Linked DNA regions of Homo sapiens: regions 1 and 2 are each linked to region 3. The links are contacts of gene promoters, found by promoter capture Hi-C in human tissues and cell types (Jung and others, 2019). All regions are on one chromosome and are shown on one strand. Each heading gives the region's core, a stretch centred on a gene start or on the middle of the fragment in contact. The rest is flanking DNA. Distances are from core to core; before and after follow the strand shown.

Region 1 (3,087 bases), core at 274-2,773, 82 kb before region 3:
GAGGGGGGTGAAATCTGCTTTCAGGGGAGAGTGGCGGTTGCCGGGAGGGAAAGGGAGCTTGGCCGGCGGGGTCACCTTCCCGTCCTCTGCCCCGGGCGGGGTCCAGCGGGCGCCCCGCGCTCACTGTAGCCTCGGCGGGCCTCTTAATTCCGGCGGCCCGGGTGTCCCCCCGCTCCGGAGCGGGCCCTTTATCCGGCCCCTGGGTCCCCGCCCGCGGGAGCCCTGGAAAGTTGGGCGCGGGAGGCGGGGCGCGAGCAGCAGCTCCCGGGTGGGTCCCGGCGGGCCGCGGGCGGGGTCGAGGCCGGGGCCAGGGTCGAGTCAGTGCTTCGGGCCGGCTGCGAGCCCTGTGCCTAGGACACCGACGACCCGGCAGCCCCGCAGCTGCTTTTCGTCTTCCCAAAGTTGCGTGCAAGCCACGGCAGCAATTAATAATTAAGCCCGTAATAAAGGCCCGGCCGGGACTGAGGCGCCCCCTTTTTCGGCACTGCCTCTCTTAATTAAAAGACACAGAGCAGGGCGCCCAGGAACTGGCTGTATCCTTTGCCCCGGCGCTGCCGCCTGTGGCGACCCGGCCGCCGCCGCCCCCAGCCCAGACGGCCAACTTACTCCGGAGCGGGCGGACCCCGCGAGCCCGCGGTCCTCTCTTCCCGCCTTCCCGCCGCCTCTGCTCCCCCCACCTGCGCGCCGCTCAGTTCCAGGTTCGACTCCACGCCGGCCCCAAACCAGTGCCTGCGCCCCCTCACCTCCCGACCCCCTCCCGGCGCCGGGAGAAGTTTCCAGCCGGACTGGCCGGGAGTTTCTCTGTGCAACTCACAGGCTCCCAGTTTGCAGAGAGATGGGAGGGCACGGGATGGGGGTGGCTCTAAGCGGTGGCGGTGGAATTGGGGTGGGGGAGAGGCGCGGGAGCAGGGTTAGTTTCCTTTTCCGAGACACATCCGAGCATCCTTGCAACATCCCTCCCCGACACACACACACACACACACACACACACACACACACACACACACACACTCTGTCTCTCTCTCACACACACACACACACACACTCTCACACACACGACGGAAAGGACCCGGGGGAAGCTGGCCAGAAAGACAAGCTACCCCTTTAAGATGCTGCTAAGAACGCACCCTCACACACCCCTCTGGGGCGACTCCAGTTCTCAGCTCGTAGCAGCCGCCACCAAACAACTTTTGCATCCGAGCCTTTGCCGGGCCGCTGTAAGTGGCTCCCGGGCCCGGGCAAGCCTGCATGGTCACCGAAGCCCTTTAAAAATGAAACCGGCCTGGCCAAGCTGCAGCCTCTCCCCCCGCCCGCCTCCCGGGCTCTCCCCGCCCGCCTTACCCCGGCTCGGAGCGGCTTCCCGGCGCGGAGACCTGGGAGGGCCGAGGACCGCCACCCTCCGGCGCTGCGCCTCCCCCCTCGGGCTGGCGCTGGGTGGGGGCGCGGGCCGAGGGCTGCGAGCCGCTGCTCCTTCCCCGCGCCGCTCCCGCCGCTGTGGCCGCCGCCGCCGCCGCCGTCAGATCGGGGCCAGGGAGCCCTCCGGCCGCCGGGGGGGCCGCCCGCAGCCGTCCCGGAGACGCGGGCCGGGGGAGGGGGCCGCCCGCGCCGCCCGCATCGCCCGCCCGGGCTGAGCGGGAGGTCGCCGCTAACAAGTGCAAACTTTTTGGCCCCCCTGGGCGGCCCGGGGAGGACCCGCGCTCGGGCGCCGGGCAGCCCCCGGCCCGGGTGGGCTTCGCGGCGTCTCGTCGGGGAGCCGGGGCATCCCCCCGGCGCGGCGCGGGCCAGATGGCGGGCGCTTCACTGCCCCCCTGCACTCCGCTCCAAGTTAATGCCGAGGCTAAATCCTCTTGCCATCACTCACGATCACCATCGGGGCTTTTATCTCTCGGTCTGATCCGGGCTGCGTAACTTCCTCTGTGTGGCTTTAACACACCATCCCACCACGGAGCAACGGTCTTCTTAAAGGTGCAGGAAGGAAATATTGCGCGGCTCGGGGGACGCGCCACGGCCCGGGGAGGGGCGCGGCGAGCAGGGGCGTCCCGGCGGGCCCGTGGCCAGGGTGGCCCCGGCAGCCTCTGGGGGGTCGCTGCCTAAACATCGCCTCCCGGCCCGGGGGCCAGCGGGTCCCTGCGCCCAGAGCGCATCCTCAGCCGGCTCCGGTCAGGCGCAGCCGGGCTGCAGCTTCCTCTTCCAAAACCCGGGGGCCTGCCGGGGTGCCAGCGCCCATGGGTGTGGGGGCTGCCCCATCGGCACGAGGGAGGGGGGCCAAGTGAGTCAGTTCCCCCACCCCCCACAGCCAAGGGCTCAGGGCTGCTCCTCGGTCTCTCTCTGTGAAGTGCTGCCACCCAGAAGGCCCCAAGCAGTGGGTACCGGGGTGGGTGGGTGGATTTGGGGAGATGGGGAGGGGGAGCGATCTGAGCGCACAACCAGAGCCTGAATACCAGCTGACACATCGCCGCCTCCACCCTGATGGGCCCTGCTTTTGACGAAGCCAAGCCAGCTCTGCAGGGAGTGCAGAGTAGTGGGGCAGGAGGGGCCTGGCTGAGGGGTTCTCTGTCTCCCTCCCCTGCAAGCATGGGAGGCAGGTGTGGGAGGGCTCCGGTAGCAGCAGCCCCGGGCAGAGGCCACCGAGTTCACAATATCATATCCGGCAGCCCTGGGCTCTCTGATCCCCAGGAGGTTTCCTGCCAGCCTGCCTCCCAGGGCTTCTGGGAGAGTTTCCACATCTTCCAGAAGCACATGTGGTTTTCGGACACTCCTGGCCTCCTGGGGTGGGCTCACTGCAGCCTTGAGCAGCCAGCACTGTCATTTGGATGCATCAAGAACAAAGGGCCTGAGGACAGACAGAGAGAGAGGCAGAGAGAGAGAGACCAGCCCAAGGTCACAGAGGGTGTTGGGAATGGAGCAAGACATGGCACCTCAGTGCCCCGCCCTGCTGCCACCCTTCACCTCCACCTTAACCCTTCCCTGTTCTCAGCTGCCCTGAAAACTGGAGACGGAGTTATACTGCTGAATAATATTTGGAATCTTGTGACAAAACAGGAAGAGGATGCAGAATTAAAGACTGTCATCTGCTGTAATAATAAT
Region 2 (3,229 bases), core at 75-2,574, 95 kb after region 3:
CTACAGGTTGCTCTGGGTGAGTCAGTGAGCCATGGTGAGTGAATGTGAAGGTGTAGGGCATTACTATACACTGCTGTAGACTTTACAGACACTGTACACTCAAGCTACACTAAATCTGTAAGAACATTTTTTCTTCCGTAATAAATTAGCCTTACTTTTTCACTTTATAAACTTTTACATTTTGTTAACTTTTTGATTCTTTTGTTATGACGTTTACCTTAAAACAAATACATTGTACAACTGTACAAAAGGATTTTCTTTATATTCTTATTCTGTAAAGCTTTTTTCTATTTTTTATTTTTGTTTTATTTTATTTATTTTTTTCTTACTTTTTAAACTTTTTTGCTAAAACCAAAGACACAAATGCACACATTAGCCTAGGCCTACACAGGGTCAGGATCATCTGTATCAGAGTCTTCCACCTTCACATTTTGTCCCAGTGGAAGGTCTTCAAAGGCAGTAACACACAGAGCTGTCATCTCCTATGATAACAATGCCTTCTTCTGGATCCCTCCTGAAGGACCTGCCTGAGGATGTTTTACAGTCAACTGTTTTTAATAAGTAGAAGTAGTATATGCTAAAAAAAAAAAACAATTAAAATTATAGTACAGTAAATTCATAAACCAGTAACAGTCATTTATTATCATTATCAAGCACTCTGTACTATACATAATTGTATAGGCTGTGCTTCTATGTGACAGGCAGTGCAGTAGGTTTGTTGACACCAGCTTAAACACAAACACATGAGTAATGTGTTGTGCTGTGACTTTACCATGGCTACTATGTGATAGGAATTTTCCAGCTTCATTATAATCTTATGGGACCACTGTCATATATGCGGTCTCACCAAAACACTGTTATGCGACACTTGACTGTGTTATAAAACATGGGAATGCAAAAATATTCACAAAGCACATAGAATGAGGAGATTGGGATGACAAATTTTCTCATCTTATTTGGGAGCAGGAGATATATCTAAACATTAAGAAATAGAGGTTTTAGTGTATTATGTAAAATTTGAAAGAAAATTCTTAAAAAGCACTAAAAAGAAAGGGGATGCCAGAGTCTTGAAGAAAACAGTAAAGACTTAGAGTCCGCAAAGCAAAAGGCAAAGAACCAAAGCAAGCATCCAGAGCAGGACACATGAAATAAGACATAAAAGAAGATAAAACAAAACAGTCTCATAAGACCACCAAATTAGGCCACACACCTGCAATATCAATAAATACCAATGAGATAAATATCTACTACAGGAAAAAGACTCAGATTGTCCCCAAAATTAAACCCTGCTATGTACAACATAAAACAGCTGTTAGACAAAGACAGATCCTGTATTTCTAACTAAAAGAAAACTGGACTTGTAATAGAAATACTAGATAAGGTTGAGCTCAAGGCATATGGTATAAATGGCTGCAAAGAGAAGCTTTATAAGGACAGAATGTAAGTCCACAGTGAGGCCATAACAGGTCAGTCCCAGGCTCAAAATACCAGCATAAATGTATAAATGTCAGGAAGCGCCAGGAGAAACAGGGACTGTGACTCACCTCAGGAGTTCACAGCAGACCAGCAAGATGGAAAATCAGAGAAGCATGTGGAAGATTTAAATACTTTCTCCTTATTGTAGTTTTTAGCTGAAATGACACCTCCTCAGAGGGACCTTCCCTGACTACCCAATCTAAAGTAGCTTCCCCAGTCACTTTGTATCATACACCTTTTTAAGATCTCTGTAGCGCTCTGTTCCGCTGTTCTCTTATGGGTGTATTATGTTGTGTTTTGTTTTGTTATTTGGCCCAAATCCCTGTGAAGGAGGGACCCTGTTTGTTCTGGTGACTGCTGTAACCCCAGTGCCTAGAACAGTGCCTGGCAAACAAGTCGATCTTGAGTTCATAGTCATCTGAGTGCCTGCTAAATGGCAGGCACTGTTCTAGGAGCCCTGAGCACTTGAGTGAACAGACTCCTGCCCTTGTGGTGCTTACATTCTAGTGGAGAATATGGAAGACAAACAATCAGAAGTCATGTACAGAATGTGAGGAGGTGATTAGTGCTATCGGGGAAAGTGGGGCGGATGTGAAGAGCCAGGAGAGCTGGGCCTGTGGGAGGTGGGCAGCGACTTTAAAAAGAACGGTCAGGGAAACTGCCTTGAAATGGTGACATCTGAGCAAATGTGGGGAGGGAGTTAGCTGTGTAGGTCTCTAGGGTAGGTGTCCCAGACAGAGCAACACAGAGGATGGGGAACAGTGACATAAGGGGGTAAAGACAAGTTGAGGCCGTGAACACCAAGGCTTGGACTTACTCTTGAGACGAGAGGTCAGAAAGTGGCTCTGATCAAATACAGCTGGATCAGTTGGAGCTGCATGAGGAATTTCACCTGATATGTGACCTGGAGCCAAGCTACTATCATGGCTGGTTTTGCCTTGTTGTGTAATGTAAACAATAGTTCTTGTTTTGTAAATTGTTTTGAGGGGTATAGTATGTGCTAATTTCAATTATTAAGATATCCATTTAGAACATTTATTAGCACAGATGAATTCGGTTATTTCAAATATAGAAGCAAAATATTGTGTAGAATGAAAATATGAGATATAATTAGACTATTAGTGAAAACACCTACCTCTGCATGATTGAAAATGAAAGGTTGTCTCAAAAGTATAGTGCTAAATATTTACATATCTGCCTGAAATGCACATTTTTAGATGCTAAAAATATTCATTGTTAATGATTGGATGGGAAGACTAGGTTTAATATAGTAATACGCTTCCATACATTTGTCTCTCACCAAAGTCAAAGCCAATTTTGTAAAGTATTACAGGAGCCTTTGAAATAGGGGCTACTGCTGAAATAAAAGGACCCTCTTCCCTATTTAGTGACAGAAAGTTTGCAGAATGACAAAACACTGAGAAAGTTTGCTTGGCAGGTTAGCCATCATTAAAGTTTTTTGTGCATGTCTTAAAATTTTCCTTCTAAAGTGTGGTGTTCTTGAAATGTGAAGAGTAAGTTTTATTGAATCCAGTAACAGGAGCCATGCAGTGAGGGAAAATCCATGGTAGCTTTCTTCATGAAAAGATCTGGCCCAGGTGACTTTAATCCTTTTCCTCATCTGTAAAATGGGGATAAAAATAAAACTTACATGATTGTAAAGAGAGAGGAAGCATAGAAAGTGGCTAGTATTATGCCTGGGACAAAATAAGTGCTCGTTAATTACATGAGGCACTTCTGAGTGTCATGAGTC
Region 3 (3,044 bases), core at 82-2,581:
GGCCCTTTGCAATATTATGCTGAAATCTTCCTCTCTACAGCCTTCCTACAACTGGTTATTGTTATTGCCACTAGTTAACCAAGGAGGACTCTTGTCTTGGGTTGACATGAAGGTGAGTTGAAGGTCACAATCATGATCTGCCTCCTGCTCTCCTCTTCTCTGCTCCAAGCTATGCAACCCCAGCTCCTCTAAGGAAAGAACATGAGGACTTGGGCAGGTTCCCTTTAGTAAAAAGATAATAAATTTTCAGAAACCTGTCTATAGCCAACAGGACAAAGAGACATTGAATTTTTCCATAAAGCCAGATTTGGCCAACATTTTGTTGGTTTTATTTAAATCCCAAACCTTCTCTTTCTTCCACAACCTCTATGCTATGTATGTTATTTTCAGAGGTGTGTGTTCACTGTAAACCAGCCACCATTCTACTTTCTGTCTCTAACATTTTGACTACCCTAAACACCTCATATAAGTGGAGTCACACAGAATTTTGTTTTTTTGTGACTGGCTTATTTCACTTAGCATAATGTCTTCAAGTTTCCTCCAGGTAGCATATGTCAGAATTTTCTTGCTTAAGCCTGAAGAATTTTTCATTGTATGCCAGTATCACACTTTGTTTATTCATCAGTTTATGGACACTTGGGTTTCCCCTGCCTTTTGGCTATTTGGTGAATAATGCTGTTATGAACATGTGTACAGGTATTGAGTCCCTGCTTTCGCTTCTTTTGGGTATATGCCCAGAAGTGGAATCTCTGGATCATTATTTTCCTCTTCTTAATTAATAAGCATCTTGGGGGACGATACTTTGAGATTACCTAAAAAGCCTGTTATTTTTCTGACACTTTCACCCACTAGTTTTAGCATCCATCGATTTCTATCTGAATCAATTATTCTAATGGCTGTCAAATGGCAATTTTCTAATTCCATCACTCTTTCTGCATTTATGAGCTGGCATTCTATTGGAAAGAAGAAACTTTCCTTCTCCCCGCTTTATTTATGAATATGGACTCATTTTATTGAATGGGCTATGTTCCTTTCCTTTTTACACTATTGCTCTGAGCAATTCTTTTCCCTATGATTCCCCAGAGTGCAAGTTTGGGGAAATGCGGGAACTTTCTGTATTTCTTTGTCACCATTAAGCAAACCGGGAGTGCAACCTGACTTCCCCAAGTTGAGAAAAATCACTTTCCTGCCCATGCATTAGTTTAGCTCAAGGGGAAACCCTTTTTCGAAAGTGCTTTCTGGGTAGCCCCGCGCGAACTGCATTTCCCAGAGGTCTTCGGAGATACGTCATCAGCGAGCGCGGCTTTTTTGCTTGCGAAGCCGGCTTTGGAGAGCTGCTGTGGCGGCGGCAACATGGCGGACGTGATAAATGTCAGTGTGAACCTGGAGGCCTTTTCCCAGGCCATTAGTGCCATCCAGGCGCTGCGCTCCAGCGTGAGCAGGGTGTTCGACTGCCTGAAGGATGGGATGCGGAACAAGGAGACGCTGGAGGGCCGGGAGAAGGCCTTTATTGCGCACTTCCAGGACAACTTACATTCGGTCAACCGGGACCTCAAGTAGGTACCGGCTGAAGGGGCCGGGGTCGGGGACCGGCCCCGCTCCGACCCTGCCCCTACGTCGCTCGAGTCTTCCCAGGCAGGGGCTGTTCTCCGTTTCCCTTGATCCCTGTTCTTTCTCTTCTTGTTCTCCAAGCCTCTGCCTGTCCCTCAGGGACATCTTAACACCATCCCCGCTTTCTCGTCTTGCTTCTCCTGGCCTCCTGGTCCTGTTTGTCTTCCGCCATCCTCGACCTCTTCTGTGGCGGTTCCATTCCTAACAAGGAGGCATGCTTTTCCCATGAACTTCCACTTCTCTGAGCTTGGCAGGTTTCTCACCTGTAGGCCCTCTGTGCCCCATCACGTCTGATCCGAATGTAGTAATAGTACAGACAGGACCTGGTCAGTCGGCTCCAAACCCAAGTGCACCCGATCTGATTAGCCCCAATTCCCCGGCCCTGAACTTGGACTTCATCAGTTCCACCACCACCCACCCGCAACCACGACGGACCGGCCAGGCCTTGAGCTGTCTTCACCTTTTCCCCTAACCGCTCCCAAACCACCTGATCAGTTTCCTCACTCCCACTCCTGTGGGAGTTCCTTCCGCAGTAGAGACCTACTCTCTAATCTCTTAACCAGTTTAATTACTTATGCTTAACGCCCCTGCTTCTTAATTTGTAGTCTTTTAGGGTTAAGGATTCCACTTTTCCTCCTCTTCCTTACAAAGTACCTTCTTCACTTACACTTTTTAAGTGTTGTAAGAATTAAATGAGAGGATGTTTGTAAAGGGCCTGGCACATAGTAGGCACTTCTTGATTGCTTAGGTCCTGAACTTGCCTTCTGTTTTATAAGAGAGTCAGTCCTTCCCAGGAAGGTTAGAATTTCAGGATTTTTGCCTTTTACTTCTCAGAACTGACCTGAGTAGGGGAAAGCATTTGGTGAGCTAGTCATCCTTTGATTTCTGGACTGGTTGGATTTTTGTTTTTTCAACTTGGTCTCCTTAGTAACCAGATGGAAAGAGGAGGTAGGATGGAGGAGGAGGAGGAGGAGGTGGCCAAATGATGGGTGCCTTTTTGTTTTCCCCCTAAGTAGTTGCCGTAAATCACACAGCCCTCCTCAACGCCCACATCCGCTTGCTGTTCTCTGGCACCGCGCCGAGCACCAGTTAATACTTTCTCTGCTTCAGGGGATGCACTGGCTATTCTTCCCTATCTTCTGTTTTCTTTCCATTTTCTCTCCGAGTTACTTCCCTTTGTAATGTTCAGGATATTATAACCCTTCACCATTTTAAATAGAAACTTTAAGAGTGCTGACATTATCCTTTTGCCTTCTTAAATCTTTGTACAGTAGTGCCAAGAAGAAGGTGGCTGATGATTCCAAAATGAATGTGGCATAAGAAGCTGTTCCTAGAGAGTCTTTTGTTGGCAGTTTGGGACTGGCCCCTCAGAACGTACTCCTGGAATGTGCTCTTGTTGGCTCGCTTTCCCAAGCTTCTCTAGGGTTTTCCTG

Evidence for each region. Contacts are between HindIII fragments. The study calls those that stand out against the background at their distance.
Region 1: a contact is called between the fragment with the promoter of NTNG2 here and the fragment with the promoter of MED27 in region 3, in 1 of the 25 tissues and cell types used here (dorsolateral prefrontal cortex).
Region 2: a fragment that was not itself captured here is called in contact with the fragment with the promoter of MED27 in region 3 in 2 of the 25 tissues and cell types used here (adrenal gland and liver).

Annotation. Positions count from the first base shown.
Region 1 is chr9:132,160,494-132,163,580 of GRCh38, reverse strand. It overlaps NTNG2 (netrin G2), which reads right to left and starts at 1,523. Exons shown (of 8, transcript NM_032536.4): 1 at 1,342-1,523. LOC124902291 (a long non-coding RNA gene) reads left to right here and starts at 1,881. Exons shown (of 2, transcript XR_007061826.1): 1 at 1,881-1,965; 2 at 2,978-3,087. The HindIII fragment of the contact is 9,283 bases long and covers 1-3,087 here.
Region 2 is chr9:131,983,060-131,986,288 of GRCh38, reverse strand. The region is part of intron 3 of MED27 (mediator complex subunit 27); the gene reads left to right. Among named protein-coding and RNA genes, the nearest start is that of MED27, 95 kb to the left of the region's middle. The HindIII fragment of the contact is 4,884 bases long and covers 1-3,229 here.
Region 3 is chr9:132,078,154-132,081,197 of GRCh38, reverse strand. MED27 (mediator complex subunit 27) reads left to right here and starts at 1,331. Exons shown (of 8, transcript NM_004269.4): 1 at 1,331-1,556. The coding sequence starts at 1,354. RefSeq lists an enhancer at 1,155-1,434. The HindIII fragment of the contact is 14,332 bases long and covers 1-3,044 here.